Linked DNA regions of Homo sapiens: region 2 is linked to region 1. The links are contacts of gene promoters, found by promoter capture Hi-C in human tissues and cell types (Jung and others, 2019). All regions are on one chromosome and are shown on one strand. The core of a region is centred on a gene start or on the middle of the fragment in contact, and the rest is flanking DNA. Distances in the headings are between cores, read along the strand shown.

Region 1 (3,998 bases), core at 626-3,125:
ATCAAGGAATTCTTAACACTGATGAGACGTTGCCAGAAACAAATGCACTCAAGAATGCTTCTTCCTCAGGAGATAGGAAAGCAGATGGTGAGATGGTCAAGATGATCATATGCTTTATAAACCCCAAAGTGATACCCTAATATAAGCCATTTTATTTATTTTCAACCTCTCCCTCTTCCTCTGTAACTGGATGTCACATTTTAGCTTCCTTTAAGGAAAGCATATTTTCATTTACTTTAATTTCTCTAATAGCTGTATGATTTACCAACTCATGGTGATTTACATCTCTTTTATAGATAATTATAGCCCAATGTTAGAAATAGGAGTAAGTGAGGAATTTGTTAATACAGCAGGGGCAGAAGCAGCCCTCAGAATTAGGAAAAGAGTACTGTAAAGACGTGGATCCTGAGAAATACTACCGATGAAATATTGACACACGCGTCGGCCTGGTAAAAACCTCATGCCCATCTCCTAGAAGTCTCACACACAAATATCCCTTCTGCGGAAATGCCTGCTCTTGCAGTTTAGGTGGCTGCCTTAAGTTTTTATTTAGTCCCTTGCCCCCCTTTCTAAATTTTGGACTAACTACACCTGTCAGTCAAATCTCCAGCTCTTATAAATGGGAATATACAGAGATGGGTAATTGAAACCACGGGGTAATTCTCAAATTTCCATTTGCCCAGTGTCAAATTTCTCTCAACCTAGCAAACAGAAAAGCACGATCTACCTGAATTCCCTGGTCACTTTTCTGACCCTACTCTGTCCTTGCTCATCACATAATGGGGGCACTTTACGTGATTCAACGAGTGGCCAAACTCTTGCAGATCCAGCGATAACCTTGGTTGCTCACACCACATAACTCAACCGTGGAAGAAATGGTGCCACCGCTGGCAGGTGAGACGCCTTCCTCTGGTTTGTAGGATACGATTGGGCATGAATTGTTTTAATAGACTGAGACTGCCCCGCGGGTAATTCTACTTGCTAGGAGTGTTGAGCAGCCTTCCTGCAAGCCATCTACTCCAGTTGGGAGTCTGCTGGCACCTGCTCCCCTGCACACCCCCAGGATGCCCAGGCCGCAGGAAGATGTCTAAAACTTCCTACAGGGGCAAAGCCCGCCCTGGCCTCACCAGTCGCCCCAGCGCGCGTCAGCCACGACCCCGGCGAGGCCCAGGTGGGAGGGTAGGGACGTGCGCAGCCTGGGGTGGGGCTGGGGGCTGGCGAGGACCTGCTCCGGGGACCAGGACTGGGCGCCCTGGCGGTCCCAGGCACCGGGAGGGGACCTAGGACCGCTGCCGTTTCACACGTGGCCCCGGCATTTTCGCGCTCTCTCCAGGAATAGCCCCAAGGGCCCAGGAGGCCTGGGTGGGACTCGGCCCCGCGCCTCTCTTCCCGGGTCCCCAGTCCCCAAGGCGCGGCCCCCCACATTAACCTTGCTGGGTCCTTCCCGGCTTTCTGCCCTTTGCAACCCCCGCGCGCCCCACCTTGGCGGGCTCCGCCGACGCCAACCGCGCGTAAACGGCCGGTGACGATTGGGGTGCAGCCGGGGGCAGCTTCAGGGGGCAGAGCCTCCGCAAATGCTTCTCTCCTCCCACCCGGCCTCACACCCACCCTCCTCGAGGTCCCGCCGGGAACCGCCCCGCCCTGCGAACCCAGCCGAGCCCTCCCTCCTGGGCCACCCCCAGTCCGGTCTCTGCTTTTGGAGCGCGTGGGCTCTGCGAGCGCCAGGGCTGGGGACCCTGGAATACCTGTTCCTCCAGCACGAGGATGGGGTCCAACTAGTGGTCCTCTAAATCCTGCTCCTTCCCCGAGGCTACGGGAAGCGCTCCAGCCACAAGGAAACGGCTCCAGTCTTTCGGCTCCCAAACGTGACACTCTATATATCCGGCTCGGAGACTGGGTGTGGGGCGGGAGGAAACCACCCTCCCTCCGACCTTCCCCGGCTCCGCCGCTGCCTCGGCACTGGGCGCGAAACCGGCGGCAGCCTCAGCCCGGGGCGGGAGGAGGGTGAGGGGCCAGCGAAGGCCCTACAGGTCGCGGGGGCGACAGCATCGTGGGCAGGGCGGCCGCGCGCGCAGGCCCGCCCCGCGCTTCCATTCGTTCAGCACCAGCGGATCCACTGGCTATGACTCCCGCATTTGTGTGGTTTGGGGGAGGGGAGTTGGTTTTGGTTTCGGTGGGTTTGGTTTGTTTGTTTGTTTGGGGCTTTTGTTTTGTTTTGTTTTGGGTTTTGGGGTTGGTTTTTTTCTCCATTTTTTAATCAGTGGGCGAGGGGACAAGGAAGCTAGAAAGGCGCCCCTCTCTGGTGTGGGAAAGGAGAACTCCCACACCGTGAAAGGTGGCGGGGTAGGGGGGTGGAGGGAGAGACCGAGACAGGAGAGAGATTCAAAGGTTCTAGTCTGAACTGAACGCTTGGGGGACATACCTTTCCCCACCCACCCTAGCAGAAAAGGCAGCCAAAAATCCCAGTTTACTCAGCTTGACTACACTGCACATCCCGTGGGAGGGATGCTCTTGTATCTGCTAAAGACATTGCGGAGGCGCCCTGCAGTGACCCACGAACGCAGTGGCTTTTTAAAACCCAAGGGCGTGAGGGTGGAGGGTGATGCGAGGACTTCAGGTGAGGCTTCCTCACACTCGGGGTTTGAAGGGCAGAAATCCGGCTCTGCCTGCCTATGGTGGGGTGGGGGTGGGTAGGAGACTAGAAAGGATCAGAGATGGGGGCCGCAGAAACAGCAGTGAGCCAGCTGTGCTCAGCAGCACTTCTCCGGACTTAAAAGAAAAAAAGATGTTTCATTTCTTAGCCTGGTAGCTTTTTTGGGATTTGGTCATTGTTAAATTTTAAACGGAAAAACAAGCTGCCAGGGAAGCCTTGTAGAGGGATGGACAGGCACGTGAGTGGAGCCCTTGGCCTCAACCAGGAAGTGCTGAAAAACGGCCAACGCCCATCCTAATTCCCTGGACAATGTAGGAGGTAAATTTCCAAATAAATATGGTGTGTTAAGAAAAATAGAAAAGAAATATTGTCCTATAAGCTGTTCTGATTCTCCTCATTATAACAATCCACATGCAATTAAAGAAATAAAATTTGACTTTTGAAAGTTAGAATTAAGGAGTGATTTCATGAAATTAAAATAATAACACCCATCTTGAATTCTCTACTACTGGGCTCTTTAATGAAATGTGTTAAGCTAAGTGTAGCCTAAAGGCACTGACTAATTTCCTCTGGTGACCGCCTGAATGCAAGAGACAGAAAAAAAGTTACAACCAAATTTATAGTATTTTTCGTTACCCCTCCCCTCCTCAAGAATAAATTTGAATGTATCTTCAAAATGTGTGTGACAGCACTTCAAATGATAATGTCAAATGCTGGTGAAAACGTATAGAAATCACTTAACAGATAGCAGATGGAAGGTAAATTGTAATCACGCTTTTGTTGGAAAGCAATTTAGCAACACATTCCCAAGGTGTTCAGTAACGAAATTTTTTCTTGTTCTGGACCTAGATTCCCATGTCTTACAATGTATTCAAAGGAGATAATCCATAAAAGAGAAATGCCGCATGTACATAGTTGCATATTTATTACCGAGTTGTTTATAAAGTAGGAAATTAAAAGCATACTTTCAGTGGGATGTTCATAGATAAAATACAACATTAATTATAGATTACAAAACCACAATTTGATTATCACCATTTAAAACGCTATTCATATATGTAGAATGTATTAGTTTGCTAAGGCTGTCATAAGGATGCACATAAACTGGGTGGATTAAACTATAGAAATGTATTATTTCATAATTCTGGAGGCTAGAAGACCAAGATCAAGATGTCTGCAGGGTTGGTTCCTTATGAGGGCTTTGAGAGAGAATTTTCCATGATGCTTACCTACTTCCAGTGGTTTCTTGTTGGCTTGTAGACACATGACCCCTGTCTCCTATAATCTTCATATGGCATTCTCCCTATGTTCATGTCTGTGTCAAAATTTATCCTTTATAAAGATA
Region 2 (3,998 bases), core at 743-3,242, 1.0 Mb after region 1:
TAAGATTTAACAGGTCACCTGCAATTTAGTACATTTCTAAATGAAGTCTGAAAGAATCAAGTATTTCTTCCTCCAGATTATACCATAAACTGTATTTCATCAGTTCTAAGCACATTTTTTCATATTTTAAATTTTTCTAAATTAAGATACTCTTTAAAATTTTAACTGGAAAACTTTTCTCTTTAGTGATAAATAAGATAGCAAGCTTTTTATAGTCGATGACTTCTTCTTCTTCTTTCTTCTTCTTCTTCCTCTTTTTTAGATGGAGACAATCTTGATTATAGCTCACTGCATTCTTGAACTCCTGGCCTCAGGCAATGCTCCTGCTCCTGCCTCAACTTTCCAAAGTGCTGGGATTATAAGTGCACGCCATCATGCCCGACCTGACTTGATGACTTCTTAAGATTCAGTGAAGCCTGGTATTTTATATATTTATTTTCTATTATGTGATCTCATTATTAGGGCCTTCAAGTTTGTTTTTTATTTTAAAAAAAGCAAGCTCCTTGCTGGGGCCCATTAAGAAATGAGAACTCTCGCAAAAAATGCTTTTTTATTCATTCACAATGCTGCATATTTCACTGGTAGTTACAATAAATCACAAGCTGATAATTAATGGAGGGAAATATGTAAAGGGCTTTCCCTGGGCAGATTTAGGTGATTCTGTACAACAAAAATGTTAATCAAATGAGAAAGTCAGTATGCTGGTTGAACATTTCTTTTCTCAAAGATTCCTTTTGACTTCATGGAATTACAGTTCAAACATTTGCAAGCTCTTGTTTTTGAAAGATACTAATTACTGTCAAAATTCCCCTCCTCTAGTGTTCATTTAAAATTTCTTTTTCTCTGACCCAGTCTTTCAAATTTCCACCCCCAGTTTGACCTCAGGCTTTCATCCACCACTTGCAGACAAGAGTTTTATGGGCTTTTCCTGTCTTATTTGCTGGAAATAATTTTTGCTCCCCAGAAGAATATTCTTTCATCATAAATTTCTATCTGTTTGTTGTTTCTTTTCTGGATAATTAGGATAATAAGCATTTTTATTCTAGTCTTTTCATGGCTGAGACACCTATAACAAAAGACAGATTAACAAGAAAAAAGCATACATATTTATTTAAGTTTTACATAAAAGAGACTTCAGAAATGAAGACCCAAAAGAACAGGCAAATGTGCATTTTTATGCTTAGGTTTGAGACAAGGTGGATGGTTGTGGAAAAGTATGATTGGACAAAGGAGGTATGCTCTAATGGTAATAAACTGGGGGGAACTTAGCAAGGTCTGTTTGTTCATATTTTTCTCTGCATCCCTGGGTCATCAGAGATAAGGATGTTCTTTTCTTCTGGTATTAGAGAGAGCACCCTTCGCCTGAAGGTCTTATGACCTGCTTCAGGGTAGAAGGTAGAAGAGCGGGAGAAAGTCAGAGAGTGACTTTCCTAGATTTTCTGACCTGCTTCCGGCGGGAGAGATGAGGGGAGGGTAAAAGTGACCTTCCTGCTTCTGCTGTTTTCTCAAATGCCAACATGCTGTATTTTGGGGTTGCCCGTCCTAAACACCATCAATTGTAACAAATGTACCACACTAATACAAGATGATAGGGGAAACTGTGTTTGGGGAGTAGTGGGGGTGGAGGGTGTGTGTACAAGAACTTTTTGTACTTCCTGATGGATTTTTCTGTAAACCTAAAGCTACTCTTTGAAAAGTCTATTGGCTGAGTATGGTGGCTCACACCTGTAATTCCAGCACTTTGTGAGGCTGAGGCAGGAGGATCGATTGAGCCCAAGAGTTTGAGATAAGCCAATGCAATACAGTGTGACCTGTCTCTACAAACAGTTTAAAAATAAGCAAGGGTGTGCAGGTACACACCTGGAGTCCCAGTGGCAATCACACCATTGCATTCCAACCTGAGCAACAGAGTGAGACCCTGTCTCAATAATAAAAATAATAATAATAATGAAGTTTATTAATTCAAAAATACCTATTTTCCCAAATTGAAAATATAATATGGCCCATAGCTTTGTGACTTTTCAATTCAATCATCTTAGTTACCTTCCAGGAGCAAGCTTAGACCCAGTCATCCTAGAAGGGCACATTTTTTGTTGTTTAGGAAATTACCACAAAGGACTGAAAGAAGGAAACAATGCAGGTGATTCAATGTACAGCGTGCTCCCTTTCCTCACTGACTCAGTACCATTAGTGCTTATGTAGCACTTCATGTGCTTAGATTGCTTTATAATAGCTTAATAGCTGAGACTCGCAATACTTCTGTGAGGTAGGTGGTCAGCAAATACCTTGGTTAGAAGTTTCATTTGAACAACCTGATGCCCAGAATTGTTAATGGCATACCCAAGGTAGCAGTGAGTCAGAGAGTGAGGAGGGACGTAGACATGGGTGTATCCCCTTCTGAATGCCTTTTCTGTCTCATTGGCTTTTACCAGATCAGCTTGCTGGCAAACGGGTGTGTAACTATTAAAGTTCTGTTTTTAGGGGGTAGCTAATTAAGAAGATAAGGATGGTTGACTGACTCAACCATCCTTACCTTCTTAGGTTTCAGGGGGTTTTATGCACATGGCAGGTCTTTGAACCTCCATGTCTTTTGTTAGCACACGTTGCACTTGCCAATCACCTCAGCCAAATACTAGTAGAGAGAAGGTAAGCAGTAATCTCCATGGAAACAGTTTTTCTATAGACGAAAAACAAAATGGACATTGATGGAAAAACTCTTTCATACTTCCTTAAAAATGAAGGTGCTACTGTTATTGTTCTTACTGTCAAAGCAAGAATAGGCGGGGTCCATTCCAACTGTTATTCTCAATAATTCGTGTTTCTTTGGTACAAAGAGTACTGTAAAATGCAGTTGGTGGGGATATGCTGGAGTTCTTTTTCATAACCATAGAATTTTAATTCTGGATGTGTGTGCATTTTAGAGTCTAGAATTCTAGAGTCCTTTAGAATGAAGACTGTTATATTTTAAAAAGATAATTTTGTTATTCTACATTTGAAACCACTTGCTCATTTCTGAAAAAAATCAGATATTAAGGGGAAAAAGGTATAGATATGTAATTTTGCCTTTATTACATCTGGAGGGTACTTTTTAAATTTTTTTCCAGAGCTATTAAAGTGGAGGAAAATAAAAGATATTGGTCCTTAGATCATTGATATAAATCAGATAATCATCCTATCTGCATAATGGTCTCTTAGGAGGAATAGAGAATATGTATATTAGCATAAATAAATGAAACACCAAATGTGAAAGAATTAATTAGCAAACAAACACTGAAGTTGGAGAAAAATCTGTGTTGAAGGCTGACAAAGTACTCAGGGTTGAAATAAGGTCAGACAGAGGCAGACCTATTCAATACAATGTTTTCTGTTTTTTGTTTGTTTGTTTGTTTGTTTCTGGGAAGCAAACAGGAAAGTTTGCATGAAATCATTTTACATGAAATGATACTGGGTTTACATTTTTTCAAAGAACAGTTACTTATGGAGCACCCACTATATACAAGGTTGTGTGTCTATGTGTTACGGTAGATACAAAGATAACTTCTTTTTTTCTTAGATAGGGTTTTCTCTGTTGCCCCAGCTGGAGTGCAGAGATACTATCATAGCTCACTGCAACCTTGAACTCCTGGGCTCAAGCAATCCTCTTACCTCAGCCTCCCATGTAGCTGGGACTACAGGTGTGTGCCACCATACCCAGCTCAAAAGTAAATTCCTACCAAGGTATTTGTAAGCTAGTAACATAAAATTTTTCTGAATAATGGAAAATTATAAACAAGGAGCACCTTTATTATAGCACTGAAATTTAATATATCTTTGTTTTGTGATTAATGATGCTAATTCATGTATAGGATATTTAGAAGTTAAAAATTTTATAATTTTCTTCTTAAAGGAATGCCTTATCACAGCATAGTTACACAACCCTTTAAAAAACCAATGTGGGCCAGGCACGGCCAAGGTGGGCAGATCAGGAGGTCAGGAGTTAGAGACCATCCTGGCCAACA

Evidence for each region. The method cuts DNA at HindIII sites, captures the fragments that hold promoters and counts their contacts. A contact is called where the count stands out against the background at its distance.
Region 2: a contact is called between a fragment that was not itself captured here and the fragment with the promoter of FAR2 in region 1, in 1 of the 25 tissues and cell types used here (dorsolateral prefrontal cortex).

The regions. Positions count from the first base shown.
Region 1 is chr12:29,147,155-29,151,152 of GRCh38, reverse strand. It overlaps FAR2 (fatty acyl-CoA reductase 2), which reads right to left and starts at 1,875. Exons shown (of 12, transcript NM_001271783.2): 1 at 1,746-1,875. RefSeq lists silencers at 1,508-1,657, 1,968-2,027. The HindIII fragment of the contact is 14,796 bases long and covers 1-3,998 here.
Region 2 is chr12:28,125,894-28,129,891 of GRCh38, reverse strand. It overlaps LOC105369710 (a long non-coding RNA gene), which reads left to right and starts at 318. Exons shown (of 3, transcript XR_931461.3): 1 at 318-419. The region is part of intron 1 of LOC107984462 (a long non-coding RNA gene); the gene reads right to left. The HindIII fragment of the contact is 4,493 bases long and covers 1-3,998 here.